6 separate regions of the Homo sapiens genome follow, and regions 2, 3, 4, 5 and 6 are each linked to region 1. The links are contacts of gene promoters, found by promoter capture Hi-C in blood cells and fetal thymus (Javierre and others, 2016). All regions are on one chromosome and are shown on one strand. Each heading gives the region's core, a stretch centred on a gene start or on the middle of the fragment in contact. The rest is flanking DNA. Distances are from core to core; before and after follow the strand shown.

Region 1 (3,072 bases), core at 234-2,733:
CCTGGGCAGTATCATGATCTAACTCAGACCCACTTTGCACTTTTTTCTTTGGTTGGCCACCATCTGTCTTTACTAGCTCAATGTTAGAAGACTTCTTTCTCCTTCCTGCTGGAGAAATTCAACTGCATTGCATGGAGAGCTAATTATATGGAGAGACAGTAAGTGCTTACCACTGGAGGGTATAAAAATACTGGCCGGTGTGGTGGCTCACACCTGTAATCCTAACACTTTGGGAGGCCGATGCGGGTGAATCATTTGAGTTCAGGAGTTCAAGACCAGCCTGGCCAACATGGTAAAATCCCTTCTCTACTAAAAATACAAAATTAGCTGGGCCTCGTGGCACATGCCTTGTAATCCCAGCTACTCAGGAGGCTGAGGCAGGAGAATCGCTTGAACCCCGGAGTTGGAGGTTGCAGTGACTGAGATCCCATCACTGCACTCCAGCCTGGGCAACAAGAGTGAAACTCCGTCTCAGGGAGGGGAAAATAAGTGAGAACCTTGGTGAAGGAAAGAGGTAATCAGCTCAGTTCAGGGCAGATCTGAGATGGGAAGACAGGAAAGGTAATCTCACATCTCCATCCTTTTGTAGCCCAGGCCTGGAGAGAATAATTAGGTGACCCGCTCAGAGTCCGTTGGGATAAAGTTGTTCTAGTTTTTGTTCACTACGCCTCCTTTCACGTGTCCTCTACAGTTGAACAGGCCAGTTACTGGGATGCAGTTCTGCGTTTCCCTTGGGTCTCACCTTAACATCGCTCGCTGAAGTGTGCCCAGATTACAGAGCGGGCAAAGGGAAGCAGTGGTTTTGCTCACAGCTGCAGGGCACCAGGTTCCTGGTTTCTCAAAGGCTTTTCTATTGGAGAAGTTTGGGTGAGACGATTTCCCGGACTGCAGCTCTGAACCCAGACTGTGGAATCTTTCAAACTATCTCAAAAACAGCCCCGCCTAAGGCATCCTTAAGAGCAGCTCTGAACTAAGGAAATTCCAAAGCCCACTTTACAAACCAGGCAGAAGCAAGGCCCCCAAGCAGGGAGGGAGGGAGATAGGGAAGAAAGGGGTGAGGAGTAAGGGGAACAGTGGCGCGGCTGGGGCGGGCGGAGGAAGTGGGGGAGCCAAGGAGACACCCCAGCGCTGGGATCCGGCAAGTCCTCCCTCTGAGTGGCCAGGGGGCCTCGTCCCTTCTCCCGATGCCTTCTGCCCTTCCTTGGGTCTCCGGAACCCAGCTTGTCCTAACCGCTTTCGCTGCGGGCAGCGCTGGCCACGCGGCCCCCGCCGCCGGCGGTTCTCCGTGGCCAAGCATCCTTGGCCTTGGAGCCCAGGGGCTGCGTTCCCCTTGGGGCCGGGGCGGGAGAGAGGACCTCGGTGGTACTCGCCCGTGCGCTGGGCGCAGCCGCTTGGCCCTCAGCCCTCTGGCGCGGCGCCCACCCGCTGGGTCCCGCCCCGGCAGCGACGCAGGGATAACCCGCGGCCGCGCCTGCCCGCTCGCACCCCTCTCCCGCGCCCGGTTCTCCCTCGCAGCACCTCGAAGTGCGCCCCTCGCCCTCCTGCTCGCGCCCCGCCGCCATGGCTGCCTCCCCCGCGCGGCCTGCTGTCCTGGCCCTGACCGGGCTGGCGCTGCTCCTGCTCCTGTGCTGGGGCCCAGGTGAGCGGGGCGATGCCAGGCTGATTGATAGCGGCACCAGGGGTTGGCCCCATGTGGCGCTTCCATGGTGCCCGGGGAGAGCGATCGGTGATGGGGTGGCGGCGTAGGGACCCATCCTTAGCCTAGGCAGGGCCAAGGGGTGGTAGAGGACCGGGTCTGGGGTTTTGCACTCGCACAAGTGCGAAGTGGTGCCCTTGTGAGGGTGGAGAGAGTACCGGGGTCAAGGGGAGGGTCTCAGATCTCCCGGGCAACCTTGGGCAAGGAGGGCCAGGCGTCCGAAGGGTGGGCAAGTAGTGTTTCGTGGCTTAACGTAAGGGGCAAAAGGGTTGTGGGGGCTTTACGCAGCTGGTAACCCAGAGGAGGCAAATGGCACCATCACCGCCATTCCCTTCCAGGCAGTCGCTTAGCAACCAAGTTGACTTGCGCTTCCCAGCTGGGTCAAGTTGCAATTTGCAAAGCTGGGCACAGGCCTCACACCCCAGAGAGGGGAAAGGCTCTTAAAGGAGTAATGCTTAATCTTTCCTGCTTCGTGGAGCTCCCAGCGAATCGGTTGAAAACTCTGAAATTCTCTGCTCGCTCTCTGTAAAACGTGCATTCACACGCACACCCAGAATGATGGGTGCTCCGATATCTGATCGCTGGGCTCCACAGGCCCCACTTTAGGAACCATAATCTGAAGCCGTGGTTTGTCCTGAGTTACCACCTTCACTGGGTAGGAGGAACATTTATGGTTCACAAGTGGCCTCAAGGACACATGACTGCCTTTGAAGCTTACAACTAGGGGAGGCAGGGATTGTTACCTCAGAGTTACTGGTGTATGAAGTGACTTGCCCAAGAGCCTGAGACTGGCGCTGTCCCACTGCAAAGCAGCTGGGCACTGCCTAATGTAAAAGGGAGGCTCACTCGGTTGCTCAGTTTCTGTATTTTGCTCATTCGAAACAGGTATGGAAACTGAACTCGAGGTGAGAAGAGGCAGGGGACATTCAGTAGGAGCCCTGGGATGGAGCCCCGGGGTTGCTAAAACAGCAGGAGGCGTGGTGAGGTCTGTTCAGGTGGGGAGGATTATTGTTCCACCTTAGAATCACAGGCGAAGCTAATCAGTCATTTCCCGTTGTATGGTTTACCTGCCTCCCACTCTTTGTTCTTGCCACTTTAAGAAGCACATCTGGGCCGGCCTTGGTGGTTCATACCTGTAATCCCAGCACTTTGGGAGGCCGGGGGGGGGGGGGGGGCAGATCACCTGAGGTCGGGGGTTCGAGACCAGCCTGACCAACATGGAGAAACCCCGTCTCTACTAAAAATGCCAGACGTGATGGCACGTTCCTGTAATCCCAGCTACTCGGGAGGCTGAGGCAGGAGAATTGCTTGAATCTGGGAGGAGGAGATTGCGGCGAGCTGAGATCGTGCCATTGCACTCCAGCCTGGGTAACAAG
Region 2 (3,072 bases), core at 343-2,842, 240 kb before region 1:
GGATCATCAGAACTCATTAATAATTTATTAGCATCAGAGTCTGTCACTACTTCTTTAGAAAGGTCTTGATCGTCAGTGACATTAGCAGACCTGAAGCTGTTGTTGGTGCTGGTTGAGAAGGTGGTGAGGCAGGGGAGTGTGGCATGCTCACCCAGCAGCTCAGTCTGCAGGAGCTCCCAACACACGGGTGCCACGTAGACAAGACGGTACATGGAGACCATGAGAGCTGGCTGGCTTACAAAAATATCTACCCATGTAATTTTAAAGGATTACTTTTATTTCATAAGTTTATAAGTTCCACACAAAACCTTGATTCACCTATTAAAATTTACTTTTGTGGTTTAGAAAAATGTTCATTTGGAAAATCGTGAGATGTAGCCATTCATATAATAAACATCTATTGTGAACACCCCACCTGTATTTTGGGCTATTTTTCTTGCAGTGACTGTTGTAGCAGTTAAAAAAAAAATAGATAAAATATAGTCCCAGCCACCTTTCCCCATGCCCTTTCAGGATGGGACCCTGACAGTTTGGGACTGTGCTAACTGCTGTAGTGGAGGTTCTTACAGCCAGTCCCTAATACTTGAGGCAGGGATCAACTGACCCTTTAGGGGACAGTATGGAAAAGCCAGGAGATGTTACGTTGGGAATAAGTTTTAAAGAATGAGGAGACGTGTACAGAGGTATAATGTGTTTCCTTGGAACAGGGCAGGCTGATTGGACCAGCTGGGCCATGGTTCCTGGAGACTGCAGGTCATTCAGACAATACTGGCTTGGGGACCAGGCATTTGCCATTTGGTCGGTGGTCCTTGAAGTGCCAACAGGGAAAGCAACAGCTCGGTCAGCCATACACTTCGGCATGTCAGAAAGAAGTGAAATAAATGCTGGCCTGGTAGAACAGTAAGCGGGATGTCAGCCTTGGATGCATTTCCCAGTTATTGGACACTCAAGGTTTGCGTGCCTGGGGCTGGGCTGAGAGCAGCTTGAGGAGGATGGCGGTGTCTGAGGGCTTGAGTAACGTCTCAGCCCATTTCCACGTGGTGCATTTCCCTACCCTGTTTTCTGGTCTCCCCATTGAAGTTAAGGAACAAAGTCTTGGGACCCTGCGGCTCTGACCCTGCCTTCTTTGGGGGAGCGGAGACCATAGGAAGAGCCAGAAGGCCACCAGAGTTGTCATTTTGGCAAACGCATAATCTGCACTTAATTCTTCCCGTGTGTACTTGAAAAGTGACTGTAATTGATTGTTGGAGGCTGGCCATTACTAGGGACGGAAGATGCAAAGGGCCTTGTCTGCTATGCTGCAGATTCGTTTGACTTTTGAAAAGCTTTTGGAGGCTTTTTCATGACAGACATGTCCTAATGGACAGAAGGATGGTGTAGTGGGATAGGAAGGACAGTGGCTTAGATGACACAACTCAAGTTTGAGTAAACAGGACGGGATTTCACAAACCGAGTCAGTTGGTGATGTGCATGTCCAGCGTGTAAATGTCAGCAGTGAGCCTACACACATCTTTTCCATTTTGTGATAGAAGCAGCAGCAGCTGTGTTTAACTGAGCAGTGAGCATGAGAAGATGAAACATTGAGCCTGTCACTCTTACATCCATAAAAACGCTATCCAGTAATATTTATTTAACTACTAAAGTTTACTACTTCATATTATCCTCAATTTATTTCAGAACAATTTTTCCTAGGGTGTGTACACTTGGAAAAGTCATCTGGAATTTACTACTCACTTTTATCATATCCTGGTTGTTTGGTATTTTGGAGATTGCTGGTAGCTGACTTTGCCCCCAACAGGTTATTTAGAAAGATTTTTTACACGCAAAGCCCAGTGCTCAGTCATTAAGATTTTAGGGCTAAAGCTTCTGTTGAGGGTGTAGCTCTGGAGGTCTCATGATACCTGGAAGTAACTTGTGGAGTTTCCGCCCAAATAAATGGGCCCATCTCAGCCTCCTTCTGCCGCACTCTGGACCCCTGGGTGATCTGGGGGAACAGTCTCTGCAGTTTGGACTGATTGTTTCTTCTGTACAGTGTACCGAATATAAAGAGATGGCCACAGCCTTTAATGCTGCGGATAAATCTGTGGTAATTGGTTAAATAATTGCCCAGTAAGTATTGACAGCTGCTGGGAAAACATTGCCACATTGATTCCACAGTGCCCCGGTGGTGCAGTCAGTGGAAGCAGCTGTAATCTATGGGGTCATCGTTGGCAGGTGCCCGGCACAGGGCTTGTCACTGCTTGTATATTATCTCTAGTCGCAAATGCAGATGTTATTGCCCCCATTTAATAGATGGGGACACAAAGCCTCAGGAGAGGTTAAGGAGACTGTCCACAGCTGTGCATGCTCAACTGTGTGACTCTGGAGAGTCCCCTTAACCTCTCCTGTGGCTTTGTGTCCCCATCTATTAACAGCAGCCCGGGAAGCAGAAGGTCTGTTGCTTACCAGCCCACGTTCCTTCTGCTTCCCGGGCTGCTGTCTCTGACACATGATGGTGGTGACATGGTAACGACCCATTCTCCAAGTGCTTACCTTAAACTGAAATGTGAGGCTCTGGGAGATTAAATGACTTGGCCGGGGCTCCTAGGTGGCAGAGCAGGCTGGGAGCTCCCATTTCCTGACCCAAAAAAGCCTTTCTTTCTTACTGTACCAGGAATTTCGTGAGATTTATTTTTTTCTCCCCTAGAAAAATCTCCTGCAACTAAGTGCAGTTTGGAGAGTTCTTTGGAAACGTAAGGGTGTGTGAAGGAAGACTTTGGGAGGTTTGAGAAGGGGGCACCAGCTGGGAACCTGAATCCCCCGAGGGCCTCTGCTGCTCCTGAAGCACCAGGATCAGCTTAACAGCTCCTGTGGCTTCCAGCTCCACCCATGGAGGCCCAGGATGGTGCTCAGAGTCGCCTTGTGTTGGGGATCCCCAGCTTAACATCAGACCTGCCAAAAGAGAAGTTCTCTGTACAGGCCAGGGGACTTTGTATTTAACAGCCACTTCCTGTGTGCTGAGGCCATCTCTAAGGTCCCTGACGCTTCCCACAGCGCCCCTGTTCAGGGCGAAACATCATAAAATTGTGATTT
Region 3 (3,072 bases), core at 424-2,923, 220 kb before region 1:
TAGAGTCTGCATAGGAGAAATCTTAAGTTCTAGTTAAGTATACCTTATCCTAAGTGCTTGGGATCAGAGTGTTAGGGCATTCAGAATTTTTTGAGGTTTTGGAATATCTACATATACATAAATGAGATATCTTGGGAATGGGACTCAAGTCTAAATGCTAAATTTATGTTTCATATATACCTTATTTATGTTTCATATATATATAGCCCGAAGGTAATTTCATATAATATTTTTAATAATATGTGTGACCCATCACATGAGGTTGGATGTGGAATTTTTCACTTGTAGTGCTCAAGTTTTGGATTCGGAGCATTTTGGATTTTGGAGTTTTGAATTAGGGATTCTTAGCCTGTATTTCTGTACTGTGGTCCCATAAGAAAAAAAAAAAAAAAACCTAGCCCTCCCCTCTTTATTTTGTAAAGGATTCATGTGTAAAAAGTGGACTACAGGTACTGCTGGTTACAATCAAGGCAGATATACTGATTCTGGGACTGGGGTAGAAAATATGCAAGAAAAGCCCAGAGCATCTTGTGGTGCCAGAAAGTAAGGATGTGCTCAAAGAAACAAACGAACGAACACTCGCAGTGATGGTGATACGTCACAGGGACACAGTAGCCAGCTGAAAACGCTCCCATACACAAAGCTGGAACAATTCAAGAAAAAGCAATATTGGATGGTAGCCCAGAGTATAAAATAGCCGTAAGATCACAGTGATATAAATGATGGAATACGTTAATTAGTAGGGGAAGAGAAATCTCCTGTGCAAAAGGTTTCCAGATAATTCATGTAGATGCTTTGCCCTCAAGGAGATGGAAGAGTTAACTCCCCACCCTTAAGCGTGGGCTGTTCCTGGAGACTTCCTTCCAAAGAGCATAGCATGGAAGGGGGCAAGTGTAACTTCAGTGGAGAATCCTGACAAACACCGCCTCAGCCAGGTGATCAAGGTCAACATCAGCAGTCTGCAGTCCTAAGCCATGTTGACCTTTGATATGGTAAGATGAGAATAGCATGTTGCCTCTGTGGTCTTCCTCCCAAAAGCTAATACTGGAGCACTGATCAGGTATTTTGCAGAAGGTCCCCCACTTAGGATTTGTCTGATGTTTTTCTCATGACATCAGACAAATCCTAACGGGTGGGGGGACATTCTTTAAATACCTGACCAATGCTCTTCAAAAAAAAGGGAAGTCTGAGAACTGCCACAGTCAAGAGGCGCCTAAGCAGACGTGACAACTAAATGTAGTGTGGGATCCTGGGTGGGATCTTGGGACAAGAAAAGGACATTAAGGGAAAGCTAAGGACATCTGAATAAACCATGAACTTTAGTTAATGTATGGGTAGTGGTTCATTAATTGTAACATGCTTATCATACTAATGTAATATGTTAATAATAAAGGAACCTATTTTAGTCTAAAAAATATTTTTGGGCCAGGCATGGTGGCTCACGCCTGTAATCTCAGCACTTTGGGAGGCTGAGGCGGGCGGATTATGAAGTCGAGTTGGAGACCAGCCTGGCCAACATGATGAAACCCCCATCTCTACTAAAAGTAGAAAAAAACAAAAAAAAAAAAAAACAGCTGGGCATGGAGGCTCTTACCTGTAATTGCAGCTACTCGGGAGGGTGAGGCAGAATTGCTCGAACCCAGGAGGAGGAGGTTGCAGTGAGCTGAGATCGCGCCACTGCACTCCAGCCTGAGCAACAGAGTAAGACTCTGTCTTGGGGCGGGGGGGGATATATATATATATATATATATGTATGTATGTATATATGTATATAAAAGAATATATAAATATATATACATAAAAATAGATATATATATTTTGAAATATCAAGCACAGATGCTAGAAACCTTTATTTCCTCATTCTGTTTTCTTAAATGATAGGGATGGTTTCTTTAACAGAATTCTACATTTGGAATAAATATTAGCATTTATTGTTCCAAACTCATTTATAGAGGTGTCTATAGTAATTAAACCCAAAGTAACCCATGTCCCCTCTCCTACACAGGGTCCCTGCTGGCAGGTAGGTACAGGTTCTTGTCCCTAGAGCGGGGTGCAGAGGGGCTTTCTATAATCCACTCTCCCACTTCAATAGGAAAATCTAAAGCATAGATACCATGCTTAGGAATGTGGGCATAAACCATATAAATCTGCAGAACTAAAATGATTTTAGTAGCCTAATAATATTTTAACATTATGAGACCTGGGTAGTGTGGAATCTGTTTTTAAAAATCACTGTGCTTCTTGTTTCAACCTTGCATGTTTCAAAATCAGGCAGGGAATCGTGAGTAACAAGGTGGCAAGGAAAAAGGTCAGATATTGATTAATGTAGCTGAATTCATTTGTAAGAACTGAGGAAACTCATGACATTTATATTTTGAATTTTTTTTTTTTTTTTGAGATGAATCTTACTCTGTCACCCAGGTTGGAGTGCAGTGACTGATCTTTACTCACTGCATCCTCCGCCTCTTGAGCTCAAGTGATTCTCCTGCCTCAGCCTCCTGAGTAGCTGAAATTACAGGCATGTACCAGCATGCCCGGCTAATTTTTTGTATTTTTAGTAGAGGTGAGGTTTCAAATGTTGGCCAGGCTGGTCTCGAACTCCTGACCTCAGATGATCCACCCACCTCAGCCTCCCAAAGTGCCAGGATTACAGATGTGAGCCACCACGCCCAGCCGAGGTTTTTTTGAAGTAGATGTTTAAGTTACAAAATTTACAAGTACCTTACAGCTGTGAAAAAAAAATAGGAAGGCCTGATAAACCGCTAAAAATGGTGACTGTTATCCGTCTACTTTGGGAGCAGGGAGTATGCACTACCTGAAAAGACCTCACTTGTGTTTCCTAAGAAGCCAAGTTCCACCAAAGACATCTATGTCCATTTTCATACGTGGGTATTTTCCCATTGTTGGTATTTCCTCTTCACCCCTTCACCATGCTGTCTTCTGGCTTGGCAGAAGGCAGTGTTGATTCCAGTGCAGTTATATGGAATTTCATTTGTTTACAGTTAACATCATGTAAGAAAATTGGCTTATTAAATTTATGTTGATTTTCCAAAATGCTGGCACCAGGGAATC
Region 4 (3,072 bases), core at 164-2,663, 200 kb before region 1:
AGGCCCTTTAGTTAGGGTTAGCCTGCATAAATACATGTAATGAGAGCAGCAACAGCTTGCAATTTATACAGCACTTTGCAATTTACCAGGCGGCTTAACACTTACAGGCATTTTTTTATATCAGTGGTAAAGACTCTAGAATTATGTCTAGGAAGAATTAGAGGGCTTCAGACTAGTGGGAAGGGGGTCGGTCTTGAGCCTGTGCTTCATACTAAGCATGCTGATTTTACTTAGATCAAAAGACCCAGGTTAGTCGAGTAGTCAAGCAAGATTTTAGTTACATGGTACATAAATTTATGAAAATGTCCAGTTCATATGAAAATATGTAATAGCACCCCAGGCCAGCCTCAGTAGTGTTACTAATCACAGATGAAAAAATGAAGCCTGAGAACACAGCAGTCACAGGTACGAGACCCAGAGGGGACTTCAGATCTAATCTGAATTATTTTTCCTCTACCAAATTGACTATCTGGATTTAGTGGTAGGCCGCTTTGTACGTTTGGGGGGACTCTGTCCCAGAGTCAGAATTATACCAAGTTCTTTGTTTTAGAAATGAGAAACCTCGGGAGTAACTAGCAAGCCTTGAAGGGGTTCAAGGGTGAGGTGATAGTCATGTATTGATATAAATTTACTGATTTTGATGAATGCCCTTATTTGTGGAAATACACATAAAGTATTCGGGTAATGGAACATCGTCTTGGCAGCTTAGTCTCAAATGGCTTGGGGAAAATAATGTTTTTTGCGCCGTTTTTGTAATTTTCCTGTGCACTAAAAGAAGCAGACATATCAGCAGTGGTTTAGAGACTACCCTAGGCCGTAAAGGTAGCTGGGAGTCTGGAGACTTGGGCTCCCCTGCTGTGCCTGGGCAGTGCCCTAAGTTTGGCATAAGCCTTTAAGAGGCCAGAAAGAATCATCGAGTATCTGCTGCAGTTGGACTTAGAACATGAGAATAATACCAGATGTCAACGTGCCCAGCTGATGCTTCACAGAATGGTTCTAACAGTACATGATTCAGAACTTTCTCTAATTATTCATCATATCTATATCCCCAGCATGCAAGTGAAAACCATCTCTGCTTCTTGCTGGGTCACCCCAGGCTGTTTTGAGCTCCTGGGCTCACAGCCTCTGTGATTGCTGGGAAATCGGAAATTCTCATTTCGGCATTATAGGATTGTGGGTCTGTCATCGTGATTATAAATATTCTCACAGGTCTCAACAAGGGCAGAGCTGTTCATCTCTGAAATGAAATGTGGGTAACAAATGCAGCAGCCTGGTTCTCGTGGAAGCCGAGTCTAAGCTTCAGTTGTCCCTTTCTCTATCCCTTGGAAATCCCGTCTGAGCCACTGCATTCTCTGCTGTGAGTGACCTTTGAGAACAGTAACCAAAGGCTTTGAAACAGGGATGCAGACACGATGCAGCAACCCCAACAGTGTAATAGGGTGTGTTCCGATCAGAAGGGGGAGCCTGGTCAGATGTTATTTCATCTGGTCGGGATGTGAAGGAAGGATAAGGCTTAGTCCCTGACTTTCTGAAGCTTGTATTTGTAATATAATCGGGAAAATAATACTGGCACAAGATGGACAGTCCTCATTCAAACAATAGCACTGTCCCTTCCTGTCCAATGGGAAACTAGGGCTGAGTTATGCAGCTCGGGCACCTGTGCTTTCAGAGAGCATGTAGCATTGTGGGCAGGAGGGAGGACTCTGGAGTCTTCGATCACCTGCATTCAAATCCAGGCTTTGCCACCTACTGCTCTTAATCATTGAGTGACTTTGAACAAGCCGCTGAAGCTTCTGAGCCTCAGTTGCGTCGTCTGTATAACGGGATACGTGACTGCTTGTCTCATAAAGTTTTTGAGAACTGAAGGAAGTCATTCATGTGAAGAATACTCTGAGCTGGGTTGAGACTTGGCGAGGGGGGGTGGGGTCTCACTTGAGGGATGCAGAGTGCAAGTGAGGATGTGAAGACGGAAACCCATAGGTGTGGGGAAGGCCATCGGCGAGCCAGCCGGACTGGGGTGAGCAAGAGGGCTGGGGCAGCCTCTGGGGTGGGGCATGCCACACCGTAAAGGCCCTGGGTGTGAAAAAAGAACCCTCGGAGGTTTCCACAGGGCTTAAGGGGGAGATGAGTGCTGGGGTGTCCGGCAGGGGTCCTGATCCTTGTCTTCAGGACACGACTGGAAGGGCCTGAGCCTGGCAGTGGGAGGTGGGGGACGGGGCCTGAGAGTGACCCAGGGTGACATCCCAAGCCCTGAGCTCAGCTGTGGGGATGGAGGACAAAAGAGAAAAGGAAGATTTTGAAGGAAAACCCCTAGGACTCTGTTGACTGGATGGGGAACACCTCGGAGAAGTATTAGAATGACTCAAGAGTTTCCAGCCTGAAGGACCAACAGTGACCCAGAGAGTGGGGGAAGTAAGAGGAGACTGAGCCACGGTGCGTAGTGGAGTTTGAGGTTAGGGTGGGACGTCAGTAGGATGCAGAGAAGGCTGCAGGTGTGAATCTCAGGCTTGGGAGGTACACAGTTATCCTTATGACATACTTCTTTATGTCAGTGAATTTTCATTTTCAGATGTGTAAAGATAATGTAATCCAGGGCCTACCTCGGAGAGCTGGCACTTCTGAGGCAGCTGATTAGGTACCTCAGCCAGGCATTCAATTTCTCTCATGTTAAAGACTGGACCTGGCCTTCTCTTCTTTGTCCCTTTCACACATGAGTTTGGCCCTCCGAACCCACGGGAAAGATCTGTAACCTCTAGCTCACATGTGCATGTACACACACACACACACACACACACACACACACACACACACACACACGGTTCCCTGCAAATGGATGACTTTAGATGCAGTTAACACCATCCAAATAATACTAGAAAGAATAACACTGGAATAACACCATCCAAATAACACGAGTACCTTCAACTAAAAAGCGGTCACCAGAGCCCTCCCCAGCAGGAGGCCTCTTGGTAGCTGGTGTCAGGGCCGCAGGCTCCCTCAGCCAGCATCAGTGCTCCCTGACCTCCCTGCTGAGGAGTATGTGGCTTCCACCCTGAAGCCAAACAGAAAGCTCAT
Region 5 (3,072 bases), core at 275-2,774, 180 kb before region 1:
CTGCGTTCCCTAAGACTGGATGGTCTTAGAGTTCTAACGGGTCTTTGAATTCATTTAGTCTGACTTCCCACCCATTCTAGGAATGAAAAAGATATTTTCTCTGCATTTATACTTTATTTTTCTGAGAGGCGCAGGGATGCTCTAAAAATGGTTATTTCAGAAGGAAACCACCTACTCTTGTTATCTTTTGTGTCACTGGTATTCCCGCATTTTTTGGTTTTAGAGACAGGGCCTCACTCTGTTGCACAGGCTGGAGTGCAGTGGAGCGATCATGGCTCACTGCAGTCTCAACTCTGGCTCAAGCCATCCTCCCACCTCAGCCTCTCCAGTAGCTGGGGCCACAGATGTGCACCACAGGTGGCTAATTTTTTTTTTTTTTTTTTTTTTTTTTTTTTTTGCAGACACGGTCTCGCTATGTTGCTTAGGCTGGTCTCAGACTCCTGGCCTCAAGCAATCTTCCCGCCTGGGCCTCTCAAAGGCTGGGATTCCAGGCGTGAGCCACTGTGCTGGCCCTGTGACATGTTTTTATGGATAAAATAGATCAATTTAATTCTCAACTTTAAGTAACTTCGCAACTACAGGAGGCAGCTGCCAGCAACCGTATTTTTCTCATGGTAATTACAGTTTGTAAGCACTGTCCATGTGTCGTCCCCTTGTATTTAACCGCCAGAGAAACTGCGTGGAAATCCCGGTAGGCTAGGGAGTGTGGTGGTGCCCAAGTGCCCTGCGCCACTGAGCCTTGCTGTGTCTCCACAGGCCTCGGCAAGACGCGCAGGAAGACCAGCGCGCGGGATGCGTCCCCCACGCCCAGCACGGACGCCGAGTACCCCGCCAATGGCAGCGGCGCCGACCGCATCTACGACCTCAACATCCCGGCCTTCGTCAAGTTCGCCTATGTGGCCGAGCGGGAGGATGAGTTGTCCCTGGTGAAGGGGTCGCGCGTCACCGTCATGGAGAAGTGCAGCGACGGTTGGTGGCGGGGCAGCTACAACGGGCAGATCGGCTGGTTCCCCTCCAACTACGTCTTGGAGGAGGTGGACGAGGCGGCTGCGGAGTCCCCAAGCTTCCTGAGCCTGCGCAAGGGCGCCTCGCTGAGCAATGGCCAGGGCTCCCGCGTGCTGCATGTGGTCCAGACGCTGTACCCCTTCAGCTCAGTCACCGAGGAGGAGCTCAACTTCGAGAAGGGGGAGACCATGGAGGTGATTGAGAAGCCGGAGAACGACCCCGAGTGGTGGAAATGCAAAAATGCCCGGGGCCAGGTGGGCCTCGTCCCCAAAAACTACGTGGTGGTCCTCAGTGACGGGCCTGCCCTGCACCCTGCGCACGCCCCACAGATAAGCTACACCGGGCCCTCGTCCAGCGGGCGCTTCGCGGGCAGAGAGTGGTACTACGGGAACGTGACGCGGCACCAGGCCGAGTGCGCCCTCAACGAGCGGGGCGTGGAGGGCGACTTCCTCATTAGGGACAGCGAGTCCTCGGTAAGTGCGCTGCGCCCACAGCTCCGGCTGCAGGCAGTAAATGCGCCTTGCGCGGTGGGTCTGTGTGCCGCGCCCTTTTCACATTGTGTGAGTACACTAGAAAGAGCGGGAGACGCAGATGAATGCAATTTAGTATAATGTTTGCTACTCCGTGATTTACTTGCATCTGTTTTGGGGATAGTGGGTGTCCATTTCTGGAGGTGGGAGATTAACTAAAAAGATGTTTTTAGCTCACAGAGGTGGTTCTGCTTCTCTCCCAAGATTCCCCCTCTTGTATTTCACAGGCTCAAACATCATTTTCTCTCCTGGTTGCCCATTCTGTGTACGTAGAAGGCCCGAGTGATTTACTTTGTTTCTATTCGGTCTGTGTCCCAGAGAAAGCATTCTTTGCAAGACTGGTGGCTGGTTTCTGACACCTCCTTTTGTTGTTTGCTTGCTTTCTCTTTGTAAACCATATAATCCCAAGGTCATTGCCACGGCAGGCAGCGCCACTGAGTTCATCTCTCAAAAGCTTTTAAAGCACTTACGAGATAAATTGAAAAGAAAACAGGGGTTCTTGGGAGAGATGAGTTTTGTTTGTGTGCAGTGAGTCGGAGATATGAGGCCACTCGACTGGGGCAGCAGACCCAGTTCAGCGGTGGGCAGGCTGGGGGCGGTGAGTTTCAGGCATGGGGTCAAGCCTGCATCCCAGAAGGCAGGCTTTTCGTGTGTGAAGGAAATACTCGACCAGTTTTGCAAACGTCTTTCCGAATACACCTTCTACAATCGAGAGACTTCCAAAACAAGCATTTAGGAGATAGAGTTTAATGTATTTGAATTGTATTGGTTCTAGGAGGCTTCAATTTCATTTTTAAATGCACGCTATAAGACTAGTAAGTATGTACTACCTGCTGCCACTGCTGTCCTCTGAAAAGATTACTGGCACAATGAATAAGTGCTCATTCAAGGGTCCTGTTGACTGATCAGAGAGGCATTCAAAGCCCTCCAGAGAGAGGCGACTGGGATGTGCTCTCTTTGAGGACGGAGCATCGTGGTGGTGGAAACTGGACTCCTTTATGGTGTCATCAATTTTGCGGAGCCTTACATGTGCTTGGACGGGAATGCCAGGCTGAAAGCTAACTTCATCTGAAATCTGAACTCTGAGATTTATCAAGTCACCAGAGTTTATCATTCCTGGCAAGACATCACATTGAATTGTTCTCACATGACGAGAGCTCTGTGCACCACTTCTTTTAGATCGTGTTTGAAGCCTTAAGCAAATTAAGGACAGCAGCGCTTTTAACTCAATCGAGCAGAAACTTAGAGAAAGCGCTGGAAAACCAATTACAATATTAAGTGCTTGGTCCAGAGTCCTTAAGGGCTAAGTATAATGCACAAAATATGATCTTGGCTTAAAATTTTTTGAGTTTGAGGAGACTTCTCAGAAGGAAGTCCTGCAGTGTGGAGACATTGGTCCCAGTCATTATTCTTTCTGCCTAAGATTTGGGGAAAAGAGGAAAGACTTTAGAGGGTAGATGAAAAAGGTGTTCTCCGGGGTTGCTGGCCTTAGGGAGGACCTATGGCTTTTCTGTGGAACATGCACAGGTGGTCATTG
Region 6 (3,072 bases), core at 321-2,820, 170 kb before region 1:
TAGTTTGCTAAGGATAATGGCCTCCAGCTCCATCCATGTCCCTGCAAAGGACATGATCTTGTTCTTTCTTATGGCTGCATAGTATTCCGTGGTGTGTATGTACCACATTTTCTTTTTCCAGTCTACAATTAGTGGGCACTTAGGTTGATACCATGTCTTTGCTATTGTGAATAATGCTGCAATGAACATATGTGTGCATGTATCTTTATGATACAGCAATTTATATTCCTTTGGATATTTACCTGCTAATAAGATTGCTGGGTTAAATGGTAGTTCTGTTTTTAGGTCTTTGAGGAATCACCACACTGCTTTTTGCAATGATTGAACTAATTTACATTCCCACTAACAGTGTAAAAGTGTTCCTTTTTCTCTGTGACCTCACCAGCATCTGTTCTTTTTTGACTTTTTAATAGTAGCCATTCTGACTGGTGTGGGATGGTATCTCATTGTGGTTTTGGTTTGCATTTCTCTAATGACCAGTGATGCTGAGCTTTTTTTCATGTTTGTTGGCCACATGTATGTCTTATTTTGAAAAGTGTCTGTTCATGTCTTTTGCCCACTTTTTATTGAGGTGGGTTTTTTTCTTGTAAATTTGTTTAAGTTCCTTATAGATACTGAATATTAGACCTTTGTCAGATGCAGAATTTGCGAAAATGTTCTGCCATTCTGTAGGTTGTCTGTTTACTCTGTGGATAGTTTCTTTTGCTGTGCAGAAGCTCTTTAGTTTATTTAGATCTCATTTGTCAACTTTTGCTTTAGTTGCAATTGCTTTTGGTATCTTTGTCATGAAATCCTTGCCTGTTCCTATGTCCAGAGTGGTATTGCCTAGGTTGTCTTCCAGAGTTTTTATAATTTTGGGTTTCACATGTTAAGTCTTTAATCCATCTTGAGTTGATTTTTGTATATGGTGTAAGGAAGGGATCCAGTTTCAATCTTCTTCACCAGCCAGCCGGTTATCCCAGCAGCATTTATTGAATAAGGAGTCCTTTCCCCATTGCTTGTCATTTGTCAACTTGGTCAAAAATCAGATGGTTGCATGTGTAGTGGCCTTATTCTTTGGCTCTCTATTCTGTTCCTCCATTGGTCTATATGTCTGGTTTTTTTTTTTACCAGTACCATGCTGTTTTGGTTACTGTAGCCCTGTAGTATAGTTTGAAGTCAGGTAGCATGATGCCTCCAGCTTTCTTCTTTTTGCTTAGGATTGCCTTGGCTATTTCAGCTCTTTTTTGGTTCCATATAAATTTTAAAATGTTTTTTTATAGTTCCGTAAATAATGTCAATGGCAGTTTAATAGGAACAACACTGAATCTATAAATTGCTTTGGGCAGTATGGCCATTTTAACAATATTGATTCTTCCTATCCAGGAGCATGAATTTTTTTTCCATTTGTTGGTGTCATTTCTTTAAGCAGTGTTTTGCAGGTCTTCTTGTAGAGCTCTTTCACCTCCCTGGTTAGCTGTATTCCTAGGTATTTTATTCTTTTTGTGGCAATTGTGAATGGGATTCTGTTGCTCATTTGGCTCTTGGCTTGACTGTTGTTGGTGTGTAAGAATGCTAGTGATTTTTGTATGTTGACTTTATAGAAGTTGTTTATAAGCTGAAGGATCTTTGCAGAAGTTGTTTATCAGCTGAAGGAGCTTTTGGGCTGAGACTATGGGTTTTTCTAGATATGGGGTCATGTCATCTGCAAACAGGGATAGTTTGACTTCTCTCTTCCTATTTGGATGCCCTTTATTTCTTTCTCTTGCCTGACTGCTCTGGCCAGAACTTTCAATACTATGTTAAATAGGAGAGAGGGCATCCTTGTCTTGTGCTAGTTTCCAAGGGCAATGCTTCCAGCTTTTGCCCATTCAATATGATATAGGCTGTCGGTTTGTCATAGATCACTTATTTTGAGGTATGTTCCCTCAATACCTCATTTATTGGGAGTTTTTAACATGAAGTTGTGTTAAATTTTATTGAAAGCCTTTTCTGCATCTATTGAGATAATTGTCTTTGGTCTTTAGTTCAGTTTATGTGATGAATCACATTTATTCATTTGCGTATGTTGAACCAACCTTGCATCCCAGGGATAAAGCCTACTTGATCATGGTGGATAAGTTTTTTGATGTGCTGTTGGATTTGGTTTGCCTGTATTTTGTTGAGGATTTTTGTGTCAATATTTATCAAGGATACTGGCCTAAAGTTTGCTTTTTTTGTTGTGTCTCTGCCAGGTTTTGGTATCAGGGTGATGCTGGCCTTATAGATGAGTTAGGAGTCCCTCCTACTCAATTTTTTAGAATGGTTTCAGTAGGAATGGGTACCAGCTCTTCTGTGTATGTCTGGTAGAATTCAGCTGTGAATCCATCTGGTCCTGGGCTTTTTTTGTTAGATAGGCTATTTATTACTGATTCAATTTCAGAGCTCATTATTGGTCTGTTCAGGGATCCAGTTTCTTCCTGTTTCAGTTTTGGAGGGTGTATGTGTCTAGGAATTTTTCCATTTCTTCCAGATTTTCTAGTTTATGTGCATAGAGGTATTAATAATATTCTCTGATGATGATTTGTATTTCTGTGGGGTCAGTGGTAGTATCCCCTTTGTCATTTCTAATTGTGTTTATTTGGATCTTCTCTCTTCTTTATTAGTCTAGTTAGCAGTCTATCTGCTTTATTAATTTTTTTTCAGAAAACCAACTCCTGGATTTGTTCATCTTTTGAATTTTTTTGTGTGTCTTTATCTCCTTCAGTTCAGCTCTGATCTTGGTTATTTCTTGTCTTCTGCTAGCTTTGGGGTTGGTTTGCTCTTGGTTCTCTAGTTCTTTTAGTTGTGATATTAGGTTGTTAAATTAAGATCTTTCTAACTTGATGTGGGCATTTAGTGCTATAAATTTCCCTCACAACACTGTCTTAGCTGTGTCCCAGAGATTCTGGCATGTTGTATCTTTGTTCTTATTAGTTTCAGAGAACTTTGTGATTTCTGCCTTAATTTCATTATCTACCCAAAAGTCATTCAGGAGCAGGTTATTCAATTTCTTTGTAATTATATGGTTTTCAGCAATTTCCTTAGTCTTGATCTCTAATATTATTGTGCTGT

What was found. Contacts are between HindIII fragments. The CHiCAGO score rates a contact against its expected background, and 5 or more counts as called.
Region 2: a fragment that was not itself captured here is called in contact with the fragment with the promoter of ECRG4 in region 1 in 4 of 17 cell types (non-activated CD4 T cells, naive CD4 T cells, total CD8 T cells and 1 more); the score reaches 8.5 in non-activated CD4 T cells.
Region 3: a contact is called between a fragment that was not itself captured here and the fragment with the promoter of ECRG4 in region 1, in 6 of 17 cell types (non-activated CD4 T cells, naive CD4 T cells, total CD4 T cells and 3 more). The highest score is 12.1, in non-activated CD4 T cells.
Region 4: a contact is called between a fragment that was not itself captured here and the fragment with the promoter of ECRG4 in region 1, in 6 of 17 cell types (total CD8 T cells, non-activated CD4 T cells, naive CD4 T cells and 3 more). The highest score is 12.9, in total CD8 T cells.
Region 5: a contact is called between a fragment that was not itself captured here and the fragment with the promoter of ECRG4 in region 1, in 1 of 17 cell types (non-activated CD4 T cells). The highest score is 7.2, in non-activated CD4 T cells.
Region 6: a fragment that was not itself captured here is called in contact with the fragment with the promoter of ECRG4 in region 1 in 6 of 17 cell types (naive CD8 T cells, total CD8 T cells, naive CD4 T cells and 3 more); the score reaches 8.4 in naive CD8 T cells.

The regions. Positions count from the first base shown.
Region 1 is chr2:106,064,205-106,067,276 of GRCh38, forward strand. It overlaps ECRG4 (ECRG4 augurin precursor), which reads left to right and starts at 1,484. Exons shown (of 4, transcript NM_032411.3): 1 at 1,484-1,639. The coding sequence starts at 1,561. The HindIII fragment of the contact is 9,592 bases long and covers 1-2,407 here.
Region 2 is chr2:105,819,459-105,822,530 of GRCh38, forward strand. The region is part of intron 2 of NCK2 (NCK adaptor protein 2); the gene reads left to right. Among named protein-coding and RNA genes, the nearest start is that of NCK2, 76 kb to the left of the region's middle. RefSeq lists an enhancer at 2,832-2,881. The HindIII fragment of the contact is 538 bases long and covers 1,324-1,861 here.
Region 3 is chr2:105,843,019-105,846,090 of GRCh38, forward strand. The region is part of intron 2 of NCK2 (NCK adaptor protein 2); the gene reads left to right. Among named protein-coding and RNA genes, the nearest start is that of NCK2, 100 kb to the left of the region's middle. The HindIII fragment of the contact is 6,296 bases long and covers 1-3,072 here.
Region 4 is chr2:105,862,058-105,865,129 of GRCh38, forward strand. The region is part of intron 3 of NCK2 (NCK adaptor protein 2); the gene reads left to right. Among named protein-coding and RNA genes, the nearest start is that of NCK2, 120 kb to the left of the region's middle. The HindIII fragment of the contact is 237 bases long and covers 1,296-1,532 here.
Region 5 is chr2:105,880,572-105,883,643 of GRCh38, forward strand. NCK2 (NCK adaptor protein 2) reads left to right here. Exons shown (of 5, transcript NM_003581.5): 4 at 757-1,478. Among named protein-coding and RNA genes, the nearest start is that of NCK2, 140 kb to the left of the region's middle. RefSeq lists enhancers at 337-1,117, 1,118-1,896. The HindIII fragment of the contact is 926 bases long and covers 1,062-1,987 here.
Region 6 is chr2:105,897,371-105,900,442 of GRCh38, forward strand. No RefSeq gene overlaps it. Among named protein-coding and RNA genes, the nearest start is that of NCK2, 150 kb to the left of the region's middle. The HindIII fragment of the contact is 4,848 bases long and covers 1-3,072 here.